Regions from separate parts of the Homo sapiens genome. Here region 1 is linked to region 2. The links are contacts of gene promoters, found by promoter capture Hi-C in blood cells and fetal thymus (Javierre and others, 2016). All regions are on one chromosome and are shown on one strand. The core of a region is centred on a gene start or on the middle of the fragment in contact, and the rest is flanking DNA. Distances in the headings are between cores, read along the strand shown. Region 1 overlaps MCM9 (minichromosome maintenance 9 homologous recombination repair factor). Region 2 holds the start of PLN (phospholamban).

Evidence for each region. The method cuts DNA at HindIII sites, captures the fragments that hold promoters and counts their contacts. A CHiCAGO score of 5 or more calls a contact.
Region 1: a fragment that was not itself captured here is called in contact with the fragment with the promoter of PLN in region 2 in 2 of 17 cell types (total CD4 T cells and fetal thymus); the score reaches 5.6 in total CD4 T cells.

Annotation. Positions count from the first base shown.
Region 1 is chr6:118,876,563-118,884,314 of GRCh38, reverse strand. The region is part of intron 8 of MCM9 (minichromosome maintenance 9 homologous recombination repair factor); the gene reads left to right. Among named protein-coding and RNA genes, the nearest start is that of ASF1A, 14 kb to the left of the region's middle. The HindIII fragment of the contact is 5,587 bases long and covers 2,785-7,752 here.
Region 2 is chr6:118,543,855-118,551,419 of GRCh38, reverse strand. It overlaps PLN (phospholamban), which reads right to left and starts at 3,124. Exons shown (of 2, transcript NM_002667.5): 1 at 3,028-3,124. The region is part of intron 3 of CEP85L (centrosomal protein 85L); the gene reads left to right. The HindIII fragment of the contact is 6,726 bases long and covers 1-3,368 here.

The DNA of each region.
Region 1 (7,752 bases), core at 4,329-6,828, 330 kb before region 2:
ACCATTTTCCCCTTTTTATGCTGTAATTGTTACACATATTTCATCTGTATATGTTACAAACACAAAAATACATTGGTATAATTATTGTTTTATGTAATTTTATACCTTTTGAAGAAGCTCAGAAAAGAAGGAAGAGCAAGAGTTTGTTATATTAACTTTCTTAATTACTATTTCTGGCTCTCTTCATTTGTTCTTGTAGATTTGAGTTACCATCTGGAGTCATTTCCTTAATCCAATATAGCTTTCTTTCCACCTGCATTCTTTTGCTGTTACTGCCAAATATATTGCATTTCTATATGTTATAGGCCCAACAATACAATTATATACTTTTTTATACAATTGCTTTTAAAATCAGTTTAGAAAAGATATGTGTCTCTAAACTGTTTTTTCTAGTTACATAATTACCTTTGCCAGTGCTCATTCTTTTTTCAATTTGAGTTATCACCCAGAGAGATTTGCTTTTGGCTTAAAGAACCTCCTTTAGTAATTCTTTTAAGGCATGTCTGCTAGCTACTGATGCTCCCAGTTTTTGTTTATCTGGGAATGTCTTTATTTTTCCATAATTTTTGAAAGATAGTTTTGCTGGATATCAGACTCCGGGTTCGATTTTTTTTTTTCTTTCAGCACTTTGAATATGTAATCCCACTGCCTCTGGCCTCCACTGTTTCTGATTAGAAGTCAGCTCTTAATTTTATTGTGGCTCCCTTTTAAATGAAGAGTTGTTCTCTTATTGATTTAAAATTTTCTCTTTATCTTCAGTTTTCAGCATTTCTGCTATGATTTATGGGTGTGGATTTTTTAAAACATATATCCTACTTGGATTTTGTTGAGCTTCTTGAATGTATAGTCCATTGTTTTTCATCAAATTTGGAGAGTTTTCAGTCATTTTTTTCTAACTTTTTTTCTACTCCTTTTAGTTCCCCTCCTTCTGGTACTCCCAATATATATATATTATTCTGATTAAAGGTGTACAACATTTCTTTGACACTCTGCTCATTTTTTATCTTGCCCTTTACCTCTGTTCTTTGGATTGCATAATTTCAACTGATCTCTCTTAAAGTTTGCTGACTTTTTCTTCTGCAATTTCAGGTTTACTCTTGAGCTATCTAGTGAATTTTTTGTTTCAGTTATTGTACATTTCAAATCCAGAATTCTTACTTGGTTTTTAAAAATCCTTTTTATCTCTTATTGATATTCTCTATTTGTTGAGACATTGTCATCATCCCTTTTTTTTTTTTTTTTTTTGCATCTTTGAGCACATGTAAAATGGCTACTTTGAAGGCTTTGCCCACTACATTTGAAATCTGGATCCTCTCACAGGCAGCTTCTGTTGTCTGCTTTTTCTCCCTGTGTGTGGGCCACATTTTCCTGTTTTTTTGCACATCTTATACTTCTTTGTTAAAAACCGGATATTTTAATTTAATGTATTATACCAGTTCTTTATATTAATTCTCCTCCAGGCCTCGTTTTTTATCCTTTTTTTTATTGTTGTTTGCTTGTTTAGTAACTTGGCTAGGTTCATTTCTTGAAGTCTGTGTCTCCTCACAGTGTGAAGTCGCTGATGTTACTCCTCAGAGGCAACAGCCTTTACGTGTGTGTACAGTCACTCTTAGGATGATAATTTTAACCAACCTTTCCTTGACTCTCTCCTTGATCTCTGTTAAGCTATCTGTGCTGTTTGGTATCATACTCGGCTGGTAGGCTCTAGTTGTTGATTGCTCTGTTCTTTTTGGCAATGCCCTGGGGATAAGTTGCTCAGCACTCTGGTTCAATTAAATTTGGTCAGGGATACTTTTTGAATCCAGTACTTGAGGTTTGTTCTGACCCCAGAAGTGCTCTTGTTGGCTGTTTCCCTGGTTCTCTATGGTAAACTAGCTGGCCTATGGTTTAGCATACAGCTGTAATAGAGCTACCAGCCTTTTTATTACTTGCTACCAAAATCTCCATTAGGCTTGAATTTCCCTGCACTGTGTTCCAAATAAAGTCAGTTTCTTGTGGGGGAAGATTCAGATTTTCCTTTCCCTGTTTTTGTGGACTCTCTCTCCCCCTGGTCAAACTCTCTGAGCTACTGCTCCAGCCAGGGGGCGGAAATGGTAGCCTCTGCCCTTATTGGCTTTGTCTTTCCAGGTGGAACCTTTACCTTATGAGTCAGCTGGATTGAAGGCATTTGGGGTGCCGAGGATTCTTTGCCTGTCACACCTAGGGTAGATCCTCTACTCTGTGCGTTGGGATTGGGTGGAGGAAGGAAGATCGTGACCTTTTGGCCACAGTCACCAGGAATTTAGCTTCTGTACCTCACACGTGGAGGGGATAAGAAATGCTTTCTACCCCTCCTGGTACGATATCTTATCCCTTGATTAAGAGCTCATAGGGAGCTCCTCTTCTTGACCACATTCACCTGTAGTGAAGCCTCCATCCAGCTAAGCAAGAAGAGAAGGGGAGAGGCAGGAAGCAGGTCATGATTTAAGTGTCTTAGACTCTCACTATTCTTATGAAGTTTTAGATTTCAATGAATAAATGTTTCTTCATTTACTGTATGCCCTTAGATTTTCCATAGTCTGTATAAATGGTTGGATTTTAAAAAATAATTTTCACCAGTTATACTTGCTTCAGTGAGGAGGATGTCCATGGAGCTCCTCACACTGCCATTGCAGAAGTGAAACCTCTGAAGTGATGTTTTTAACGCTGTTTTCACTGTTCAGTTTTTCTAAGTGCAGTCATTATTCCTGGTTTGCTAGTAATTTCTGGTGCCATTTTTCCTCCCTTGGTGTTTTTAATGAAGCTTTATTTGGTCACTAGTTCCATGTCCTCATAGAGAAAATGTAATACTTATACAATAAATTCCGCACATTGACTCGCTCACTGAATTTTACCATAGGATACAAACAAACTACAAGTCAACAGGAAGATGAGTGCTGTTTTTTGGAAGGGTGTGTATAAATATGTATTGACTGGAGGTACTAGTTGGGAAATGGAAAGTTTCAAGGAGGAAGGAAACGTTCTTATCTAGATGCGGAGGGAGTCAGGATTGAAAAAGGTGGGGCTCAGGAAAGTTAGGGTGTATAAATTAAACATTATTATAAAATTATACGTAATCCTTGGCTGACATAGTACTTCAGTGCATTATGCTTACTTTAGTGCATGCAGTAGTTCATCCGGGGTTTTGCTTTGCATGATTTCAATTTCCCATAGTCAATCACTGTCTGAAAATAGATGAGTTCATTACAGTAAGATATTTTGAGAAAGACCACGTTCACATAACTTTTATTGCAGTATATTGTTATAATTGTTCTATTATTATTTTTTGTTAATCTCTGTGCCTAATTTATAAATTACCTTATCTTAGGTTTGTATGTGTAGGAAAAACATAGTGTGTATAGGGTTCAGTACTAGCCACACTTTCAGGCATGCACTGGGGGTCTTGGAACGTATCCCCTGTGGATAAGGAGAGACTACTATGCTTTGATATTAACAATAAATGTTTGCTGAATTGTTGAACACAGGAATCCTCTACAAGAAGAGAGAATGAATTGGTACTCATCCCTTTGTCCCCTGGCTGCCTTCTACTAACTTCCCTATTCCAGTACTAAAAACCCAAAGTTTGAAAGGAAAGACATCTTAAATATAATCACCTTTTAATCATTAGAAGTACTATTTATTTCCCTCTTCTTGCCTCTCATAAGACAGAGACAAAGAGACAACTTTGTTTTCCTTCTGTCTTTTGCATTCAAGGAATTAACAAAAGTGGGAAGAAATACTTAGCTGTCTTAGTTTTTAATTACCTTTGCCACAGATTTCAGGAAATGGCTGAAAGTCCTTTCTGTATTGCTAAGAGACAGATTTAGAAGGGATTTTTAGAACCTTTAGTCCTTTAGGCAGTTACCTACTCATTGCATAAATACCTTTTTATACTATCCTGACAAGTGGACATTCTACTTTGACTTACTTTGATGAAAAGTTCACTATTTTGTAAGGCAGCTCATTCCTCTTCAAACACCTCGAGTTTCCAACAGTTCCTTGTAAACTTCTACATGTTAGTCTCAGTTAATTTCTTTTGAAGCTGCTACAAATTTATCTAATTCCTCTTCCATAGGAGAGTTTTCAGAGGATATAAAAATTTCGATTCCCTGTATTTTTTTTTTTAATTAGGCTAAACAGACCCAATGTTACAAACCATTCTTTAAATGGTATTATTTGCATGTCCTTCATTATTTCATTGCCCTTTTTATTCTTTCTTTTTCTTTTCTTTGGTGTTTTTTTTTTGTTGTTGTTTGTTTGTTTGTTTTGTGCACTCTCACTCTGTCGCCCAGGCTGGAGTGCAGTGCATGAGCTCGGCTCCACCTCCCAGGTTCAAGTGATTCTCCTTGCCTTGCCTCCCAAGTGGCTGGGATTACAGGGACCCACCACCACGCCTGGTTAATTTTTGTATTATTAATAGAGACAGGGTTTCACCATGTTGGCCAGGCTGGTCTCAAACTCCTGACCTCAAGTGATCCACCTACCTCAGCCTCCCAAAGTGCTGGGATTACAGGCATTAGCCACTGCACCCCGCCTAGTCTTTCTATTAGTTTTTTTTTTTTTTAATTTGATGTCCCAACATGGACATTAAAACACTAGATCAAGAATTGGCATCCTTTTTCTGTAAAAGGCCACATACTAGTATTTTTTATTCTGATGGCAGTATAATGTCTATCACAACTACTTACCTCTGCCATTATAATATGAAAGCAGCCATAGACAGTATGTAAACAAATTAGCATGACTGTATTCCAATAAAATTATATTTCCAAAAACAGGTAGCTAGGCCACATTTTGTGCATAGATCCTCTAGAAGTTGTCTAACAGATATCTACACTTGTGAATGCTATTCTTGTGTTAATGCATTTTTAAGATCATATTCAGATATTTTGACTGATATTAGTATAGCTTCCTCAATTCTGTTTTGGTTATTGTTTGAACAAAATATCTTTCTCCATCCTTTCACTTTTAACCTATTTGTGCCTTTAAGTCTAAAGTGTGTCTCTTGTAGACAGCACATAGTTGGATCATGGGTTTTTTTTTTTTTTCCCCCTCCATTCTAACAACCTTTGCCTTTTCATGAAGTAGTTCATCTGTTTCCATTTAATGTAATTACTCACAAGGCAGGATTCATGTATACTATGCTCCTCTTTGTTTTCTACATGTCTTATGTCTTCTTTGTTCTTACATTCCTCCATTTCTGCCTTCTTTTGTATTTTTTGTCTGTTTTGTTTTGTTTTTGAGACAGGGTCTTCCTCTGTTGCCCAGGCTGGAATGCAGTGGTATGATCTTGGCTCACTGCAGCCTCCACCTCTTGGGCTTAAATGATTCTCCTAACTCAACCACCCAAGTAGCCAGGACTACAGGTGTGTGCCACCTGCCCAGCTAATTTTTGTATTTTTAGTAGAGACGGGGTTTTGTCATGTTGCCCAGGCTGGTCTTGAACGTCTGAGCTCAAGCAATCCACCCACCTCAGCCTCCCAAAGTGCTGGGATTACAGGTGTAAGCCACTGTGCCCAGCCTCTTTGGCATTAAATATATTAAATATATATTTTCTAATGTATTATTTTAATACCCTTCTTGTTTCTTATATATTTAAAGATATTAATAGTTGCCTTGGGGGTTATTACCAACTTTTTAATTTAAAGCAGTTTAGTTCAGATTAATGCCAATTCAATTTTCATAGTGTGTAAAAATTTGTTACAATGTAATTCTATTCCCTTTTCTTTGTGCTATTATTGTCATACAAATTATATCTTCATATGTTATAAGCCACTCAACACATTTTATAATTTGTGCTTATACAATTTTCTTTTAAATCAGATAAAAGAAAAAAAGTTACAAAGTTACAGTTATGCTGTCTTTCATTTTTTACCTATATAGTTATCTTTATTGGTGCATTTTATTTCTTCATGTAGGGTTGAATTACCATCTTAGTGTTTTTTCATTTCAGCCTGAAAGACTCCTGTAGTATTTCTTATAGGTCTATTAGCATTAATTTGTTTTTGCTTTTTTTTAACTTTACATTAATTAAATTGTAGACTATGTATTTTTTGATCAGTATTATCTTTTAATATTCTCTCCATATTGTGTTTAGCTGTACAATACTTTATCTTGTTTTTGTTTTTCTGTTTTGAGGCAGGGTCTCGCTCTGTCACCCAGGCTGGAGTGCAGTAGTGTTATCATAGCTCACTGCAGCCTGGAACTCCTGGGCTCAAGCAGTCTTCTTGTCTTAGTCTCCCAAATGGCTAGGATTACAGTCATGCACCACCATGCCTTGCTAATTTTTTAAATTTTTGTAGAGATGAACTCTCACTCTGTTGCCCAGGCTTGTCTTGAACTCCTGGCCTCAAGTGATCCCTCATCTCAGCCTCCTAAAGTGTTGAGATTACAGGTGAGAGCCACCACACCAGGCCTAGTACTTTGTTTTTTAATTGTTATGCATTATTCCACGGTCTGAATATACCACAATTTATTCATCTGTTCTGTTGATAGCCTTTTCAGTTGTTTCCAGGTTTAACTATTATGAAGAATTTTATGATGAGCCCTCTTTTACCTATCTCCCTCCTGGTGCAGATGGTCACAATCTCTGTATGGAACAGACTTAGCAGTGAAGTTTCTGAGTACATGAGTATGTATAACTGAAACTTTTGTAGATATTGCCAAACTCTTTTCCAAAATAGTTGTATCCGTTATTATTCCCATTAGTAGCACATGAGAGTTGACTTTGCCTCACAACCTTGCCAGTACTTGCACTGTCAGATTTTTAAATACTTAACCATACTTGTGGGTGTGTAATGGCATTACACTGTAGTTTTAATTTGAATTTTCCTTATTATTTATGAGGTTGAGCACCTTTTCATGTGTTTATTGACTTTCTCTTTCATGAAATACCTATTTTAAGTCCATTCTCCATTTTTCCATTAGGTTGTCTGTCTTTCTCTTAGTGGTCTTGGCTAGGTTATGTAGTACTGAGTAAGAGACCACTTCAAAACTTAGCAGCTTATTTTGTTTACAGATCTGCAATTTGGGCAGGTTTTTTCTGTTCCATGTGCATCAGCTGTGGCAGCTCAACTGGGGGCTGGAGGATCCACTTTCAAGATAGCTACTCATATGCTTGGCACATTGGTGCTGACTGTAGGTTGGGTGCTCACCCTGGGCTGTGGGTCCTTGGTCCTCACTTTCTGTCCACACAGGCCTCTCTGTAGGTTGCTTAGGCTTCTTTACAACATAGTGGCTGGGCTCTAAAATCTAGCATTCCAAGAAAACAAGTCAGAAATGTCTAGCATTTTAACAATCTAGCCTTGAAAATGACATGGCATTGTTTTCACCATACTGTATGGGTCAAGGCAGTCACAAAGCTCTGCCCTGATTCAAGGGGAGGGGATATATTGAACATATTTTCATGTGCTTATTTGCCATGTGTATATTTTCTTTTATGAAAGGACTGTTCAAACTTTTTTGCTCAGTTTTTCAGTGAGGTTTTGTTTACTTCTTACTGAGTTTTGCAAATTCTTTATATATTCTGTGTACAAGTCCTTTATCAGATAAAGGATTTGCAAATACGTTCTCCCAATCTGTTGCTTATCTTTCACATTTTCTTAACATTGTAGAAGAACAAACATTTTTAACTTCAGCGAGGATCAACTTATAATTTTTCTTTGAGTACTGTGCCTTTGATGTCATATGTAAGAAATCTTTGCCCAACTCAGGGTCACAACAGTTTTTGCTTAT
Region 2 (7,565 bases), core at 1,875-4,374:
ATTGAGAAAGTCTTAAGGATTTAAAATGAATGCCACTTAATAAATATACCCCCTATTAATGTGAGTGAGTTAGTCAACCTTTTTTTTTGTGCGGGGGTTGGGGGTTGAAAACTAAAGATGGAGTACCTTTTCAAAGGCACTAGAGGTCCTCAGTTGACTATGAGTATGCTGTACATCCAGGCTTCATTTTCATGTGTTTATTTGGTAACACATGCTTCAGAATTACTCTGGGTAAGAACTTTGAAATTGTACAAAGAGACTACTTGATTCTAGGGAACCTAGAATAAAGTATCGAAATGTGATTTTTGTGAAAGTTTTGAGGAGATGTTAACTTGGATTTTAGGTATCAGATGAATTGAAGGCATGAGTATTTTAGCAATGAAACAAATAAAAGGAAACTTTGATTGATTGGGGTGTGTTATTTTTTTTAAAGTCTGTGCAGTTAGTTTGAATTTTGCCTTCCAGGAGGTATTGCTTAATAACTAAGGGCATCTGTAATTTTCGTATATTTCTGGTTTTGAAAATGATCAGTAGAATATAATTTAGACTATTAAGAATGTAATGCTATGCATAAATTGAATTTAAATGGAGTGGAATGGCTTTTAATTAAAATAGAAGTTTGTATTCTCTGAATTTGCCTTTTGCCTTTTAGAATATCATTTACAGTATTTGGGGGCTTTCAAATTTTGTTTGTCAGTGTCATGGTTTACTTTAAGCCATGCTGATCAGTATATAGAGGATGTGCATGTGGCTTAGTGACAAAACCTAAACTTCTGCCAAGGTTTCCCTGTTTTCTTAGTTCTGTGATCTTGAGCAGTTCACCTTTTTGCATCTTTCCTAAATTGTAGAATAGGGATGCAGTATCAAATATATAATTAAGAGGACCAAATGAAATATTTGTGTACACGAGTATATTAGGAAATTGCTCTTTAAGAATAAAAAAGAAGTGTTCATTGGCCCTCCTCATTTCTGGGATTGGTAATATATTGTCTAATTTGGAGAGGTAACTAGACTTTAGGTTTTTTAATTAAAAATTTAATATATTACATAATTTAGTGTACATGTGTAATGAGTACATTAAAACATTAAAATACATTAAAATTTTCTGAAACTATTGTATTTATGCAATATTTTATTATTTCTTAATCTCACTAATTAAAGATATGATTATATACCCAAATGTGATCATTTTCCTTTATGCCTACTAAAATACAAATAAAATGGATTTGATATTTGAGTTTTAGGAAATGATAGTGCTGTCACGCCTTTTAGTAAAGCAAGTACTCTGGCTCTTTCATGCGTTTTTAAAACTTAATGCTTCTTAATTTAAACATCTTTCATATTTTTTCCATTTGATTTCATCTAACACTTTTTTTAGCACTTACTTTGAAACCACATGTCTTCATAAACAAAGATAATACTTAACTTGCACCTTAAGGTATAGATGAACTAGTTGGGACACAATGTATGGTACTACCACATTATATTTGAAATTTTAGCAGTCTCTGTAACTGTAATTTCTGTTAACTGAGACATACTAGTGAGCTAAGGGTAAGTTTAATATAATTTCTGCTCTATCCAGAAGTATGTGTACTTTTTAGAGTAATATGTGATATAGCAAAATTCTGATACAATAAAATAACTCGTGAACACCCAATTTGAAGTGTGAGAATGTAATTTGATAGATATTTGAATAAAAATGCACAAATAACATAAGACACCTACACTGAATGACTTTTATGTACTATCAAAGGAAAAATATGAGTATAGAGATATGGAGACACAATTAGGATACCTCAGTGGTAGACAAAAATTATGTTTTTTTATGTCTTAAGGAAAGCTGCTTACAGAGTTACAAAGTTCTTATTTGTAGTGAGCAATAGAATTAACATTTGTCATAGGAATTGAGAATTTTAGAGATAAATTTTATTTTAACATATATATGAAATATGAAAATCAAAATAAATAAAATATATGTAATTTTCTGTATGCCCTGACAGAGATCTAAGAATGAGGAAACGTTTCATTTACTAAATTGAGGATTGTAACATAAAGAATAGGGTAGAATTCAAACAGAAGTCATAAAATTGATTGTGGCATCTCCATTCCTGGCATTTATTTTATTTTTTCCTTTCTTTCTAAATCCGAGAGAGGAAATGGAGTACCACTGGAGGATAATAACTTGACAAAACTATAGGCATTAATAGGCAGAAATCCATTTAATCAAATTTGTGTGAAAATAAGATAGTTAAGAATATTCGTGTGTCAAAATAACTTTTTAAAGTATCAAATTATTCTCTAACGTCAGATTTTTTGTGTTTGTGAACATTGTTTTAAAATTTCTAAACTTCTTTATGATACAATATTGAATTTAATATCAGTAACTCAATTTATTAATAGCATGGAATTTTTTTAGAAATGTTTGTTAAAAGTTGACTGGACTTTAGAGGGGAAACATCCTCAAGGGCACTTTAAAAGTAGCTTGTATTATATATTCTGAAACTCCATTTCATTATTCACTGTATGAAATTATGATAATATTGGAATAGGCATGCTGATAATGTGCATGTTGTAGTCAAATGACTATTCATATTAGTTCAGATGTAAATAGCTCAGTTCTGCACTGTTTCTCAGCAGAGCAATAAATAACAAAATTAAGTCATTGTTTTTGCATGGAGAAATTAACCACTACTACCAAATATGGTAACATAATTGGAAGATTTTTTAATTGGCAGAAATTCACATTTGAAAAGCAAAATAAAAGTGAAAGATAAATTTAAATGACAAACCAGTAACCAGGATCAAAGATGAATATGACCTTTTTCATTTCAAAGTTGTCTCATTTTTCCTGTCACTAAATGGATAAGCATTTATAAATTTAAGCACTTTGTCATGTCATTTTATTGCCTAAGATTGAACTGATATTCATAAAATTAACTCATTTTAAAAGTTCAGATTATAGAAATTATAGGAATTAAGAATTATAGAAAGTAAGAATTACCAAAGTCAGCGAAATCTGTTTCTTACCTTGGCAGCTGTGATCATCACAGTATAGAGTATTGTGTTGTATGAAGTCTTACGGGTGTTTAGCTGGGGAGTTTTCTGACTCTGTCACCCAGTTTATGGGAACAGTTGCAGTAGGTGGAGGAGAAAAAGTGTTCTAGGGAGGTCTTATGATGTCACATAGGAATTCTGAAGTTTCGATTGGTTAGCCACAGTCTCAGTCTTATCACAACCAAACTTTAGAACTTCTTACTTTAGGTATGGAAAAGTCATTAACACTTTGTGCTTCATCTTTTGTTTTTAATTTAAAACAGTATATGGTAGATAAATGAAAAAAATAAGTAAACTTGAGGTGGTGGAAAGCTTTTGTTAAAGATTCATGCATCTTCAGGCTTAGAGATAATTGAATATTAATGGTGAAGATGTTGAAGAGCTAAAATAGTTACTGCAGGAATTTTAATTATGAGAAAAATAAACACAGGTATAAGCAAAACAACTTTCATTGAATTCTTGCTGCTGTTGCTTTAATACGTGTCTTCATAATGTTAGCTTTTAGTGAAAGTGAAATATTTTTACACAATAAAATTTTATACCTGTTTTCTTATTTTGTTCTTGTTCTTGTGTGTATGGGAGAAGGAGTATGAGAAAATCAGGCTAATTGCTTTTTGTTTTAAAAAATTATTTTTATCTTACAGTTAAAGAACTAATAAATGTATTTAATTCATTTGTGTTTTCTTCAATTAGCAGTTTAACAATATATTTGTGAATAGTAATACTTATATTTAAACTGATACATACAACACCCCCAAAATAGCAATATGCTACTTTAAGTATTTAAGATTTTTTAAAAACAATTGCATTAAATTATTACACAATCTTACCAAATTTTTAATAAACTGATGCAGTATTAAGGGCAACTTTATGGCAAAAAAGAAATAATTACAGATTCCAAATCAGTTACATCTCAGTTAATGAGGCTTTATAGGTTTGATGTGTTGAAATTTAAGTTTTGTAATGTTTTTGAAAGGATGTGCCTCATTTAATCTAGCAGTTGCTTTCCTGAAAATTACTATAAAAATGAGATGCTAGTAAGTGAGATGATATTTTGAACTTCCTAGAACAGTTTATCTTACAGTAGAACTGGGGAAATAATTTTTTTGTAAAGCCGGGCATCATTCTCCTCTTCTCTGTTTATCTAATTTGTTGTCTTAGATGTTAGATTTACTTAAGTCACCACACTCGAAAATATTAATTCTTAAATCTCTTCTTTAATTTTAGAGGAGGTACTTGTAATTTTTAATTTTTTAAATGCTTATGACAGAGTGAACTTAGCCCACTTCACTTTCTTATGGGTAACTAAAATGTGTAGCAGCAGCTGCTTACATGCCCTTAAATGGAAATGATCTTGGCTTCTTCCAAAGAAAGAAAATCCATCTCTAGAGCAAATCATTTGATATTTAAAGAGTCAGCTTAAAACTAACTGAAAAATAATATTTTAGCAAAGATATCCTGTGAACATTGCCAAGGGAAAATTTACAACTTAAAAGTAAAACCCAAGTTAAGGAAATTGCAGAATAATGTTTGATACTTTTCTCAGTGCTACAACCATTTTTCTTTCAATCCTTACATAATGAGGATCTCTCAGTACTATCAGTTACCAATGATGATTGATAATACAAAACCGAGAAGCCTAACGAGGTTTACAGTAATTTGTCAGAGATAACCAGCTGCTAAAGAATAGACAGGATTCAAATCCAGATCTGTCTGTTTATAATTCCTAATCTGTTGGCATGCTGTGGGAAAAAATTATAATTTGAATATAGCTTTCATTAGAGTAGCATATAGTAACTGAGAAATTTTTAAGATGTAAATAGATGCATTCTTGAGCACTGTTAATAGTTTTAGAAAGTCTGCTTTAAGTTTGTCTACCAGTTACACATTCATTTGAAATTTAGGTGATAGATCATTGTTCTGAGAACTTCTCATTCTAAGAAAATAGAATTAGTAATACTTAGTTGGATAAACCAAGAAGCTGCCGTAGACAGAATAAAATATGCCCTAGTTACCACATGTTTATAAGTTTACTTAAAAAGTATACATAGGCATATACACACCTTAGAAGGATACTAACAACTGTGTGTGACACAGTTGGAAAATGGATTCAAAAATTTACTTTTTAGATTGGTACAAGAGTGGGGAGTTTTTGTGTTTACCTTGTTCCTTTGGGTTAGCTAGTGAAGATGACGATGATGGTGATGATCTCATGTGGAACTCTAGGAAGTATTAGATTTTAGTTTTAACTGAACATTGTTTTTAATTGCCCAAACAGAAAGTTGTTTAATAGGAGTATTAATGAGTTATAGTGTTATCAGTAGAGTGTTCCTCAATGATTCCTCAGCTAGAGGCTAGAAAATTTTTTTGAGGTGCTTTGTCACAGTCTTCATTTGGAGTTACACTATAGTTTGAATGTATTTTTGGTCACATGGCTTTATACAAATAACTTTCCTAAGCAGCCTAATCTGTGGAATAGTATTTGTGATGGTTTAATGACATGAAGTGTACATAGTGATTATCAGAGATCCTGCAACAGTGTTCATTTAGTGTTAGCACTTATTTTCTTTTTTCCTTTAGAAGGTGGATTCTTAAGGGTAAAGTGTCTTTGAACTTGGATGGGAAAATAATTACAAATTTATTTTTACTAAGCTCTAAATGAAATTTAGTATTCAGTTTCAACTGAATCATGAGTTCATGTCTTTACTTTTGTTTTTATATAGTTTTGTAGCATTTTAAATGTGTTCCTCAAAAGTATTACTAATTTTTTTTGGAAGGGGGTGCGGAGTCTCACTCTGTTACTCAGCCCCGAGTGAATGGTGCGATCTCAGCTCACTGCAACCTCTCCCTCTCGGGTTCAAGCGATTCTCCTGCCTCAGCCTCCCAAGTAGCTGAGACTACAGGCGTGTGCCACCACGCCCAGCTAACTTTTGTATTTTTAGTAGAGATGGGGTTTCACCATATTGCCCAGGCTGGTCTCAAACTCCTGACCTCGTGATCTGCCCACCTCGGCCTCCCAAAGTGCTGGGATTACAGGCGTGAGCCACCGCGCCCAGCTATATTACTAACGTTTTGTGAAGGGCACTGTGATGTATGTAGTAATCTTTTACATTGAGCATTTAAACTCCAGTCTGTAGTGGTGTATCCGGAGGGCGAAGAAGCTTCAAAATAGAATCGGTTTTTGGAAATTTTTGACCAGAAGTTAATATAAGTGATGACTAAATTAAAGCATTTTAATATTTAGACAGAGATACAGTAAAATGCAAGCTTTGAATCAATTTTTGTAATGTTCACAATACATCAAAGATAAGGAGCTTTTTTTAGATTAGATCTCCTAGACACCCAGGAAGAAGATTTTACCTATCTCTTGAGGGTACTTGAGGGTTTGATAATTACTGCCTTAAATTTTAAAGCTACGTAGGGAAGGACTGGTTCAAAAAACATCTAAGCAAAACTGCGAATAAGAATTAGTGGTCTGAGATTGAGAGGATGGAAATTCTCTCCATAGGGCAATAGGGAAAAGAAAATAAGATTTACTCATCAACTGGAGTTGGGGGGCTGTTGATATAACCCAGTGATAAAGTAACCTATAAAGCTTAGGGGTCATTTGGGGGAGGTAGGTTCACTTTTCACTTGATTTGCCAGATAACCTGGAGACCCAAACATTTTATTTTTTCATAAATATCTGAATTCTGGGCAAATTCTCTTTCCTCATCTTGATGAGGGGTGGAGAAGAGCATTGACATTAAGAGAGGCCAGATGGATTAAGAAAAGGACTCATATAGGTCTACATAAATTTTGGAAAGTTATTAAACATTCTAAGTGATAGAAATGCTATAGCATGCTACGTGGCTTCAAGGAAATTATGGTTTATCAGTATACAAATAATATGGAAATGAAAATTTAACATTTAGAAGGTAACCACTAGTGCAAGATAACACCAGGAGAAAAAGAAATTCCCAATTGAGAGTCAAATGAGCACGTGTAATAATAAGCAGTATGACTTCTAAGAGAAGTGCATGTTTTGTACAAAGGAAACGGACAGAACCAAAGCCAAAAATAACAAAGGGAAACACATACATCACAAAACAAATTTAACAACAAAAACCAACCCTTAGGTCTCCAAATACTTGCTTCAAAATTCTATAGGGTCCCGATCATGATGCTGTTACATTGTTAAGAAGGTTCTATTTCAATTTAATGATTGTAGTATTTCTCCAGACATATTAAATTTCTTATCTTTGTGGTTGATATCTCAGCCCTTTGAGCTCCTCGCATTCGCAAACTTTGTGGTGGCACTATCACTGATTTTGATACAAAATTGAAATTGGAGGCTCATACCTTTTCTGTCTTCTGCCAGACTCCCCATTCACTTAGAAACCAAATGCAGATTGTGAAATATGTCTTTGTTCTCATAGCCTGACCAACTCTCCTCTTAACTTTCATAGACGTTTATTAACTAGTTTTTCTACCCTTCGTTGTGACTCTTTCCTACTCAGTTTTTACTCTGA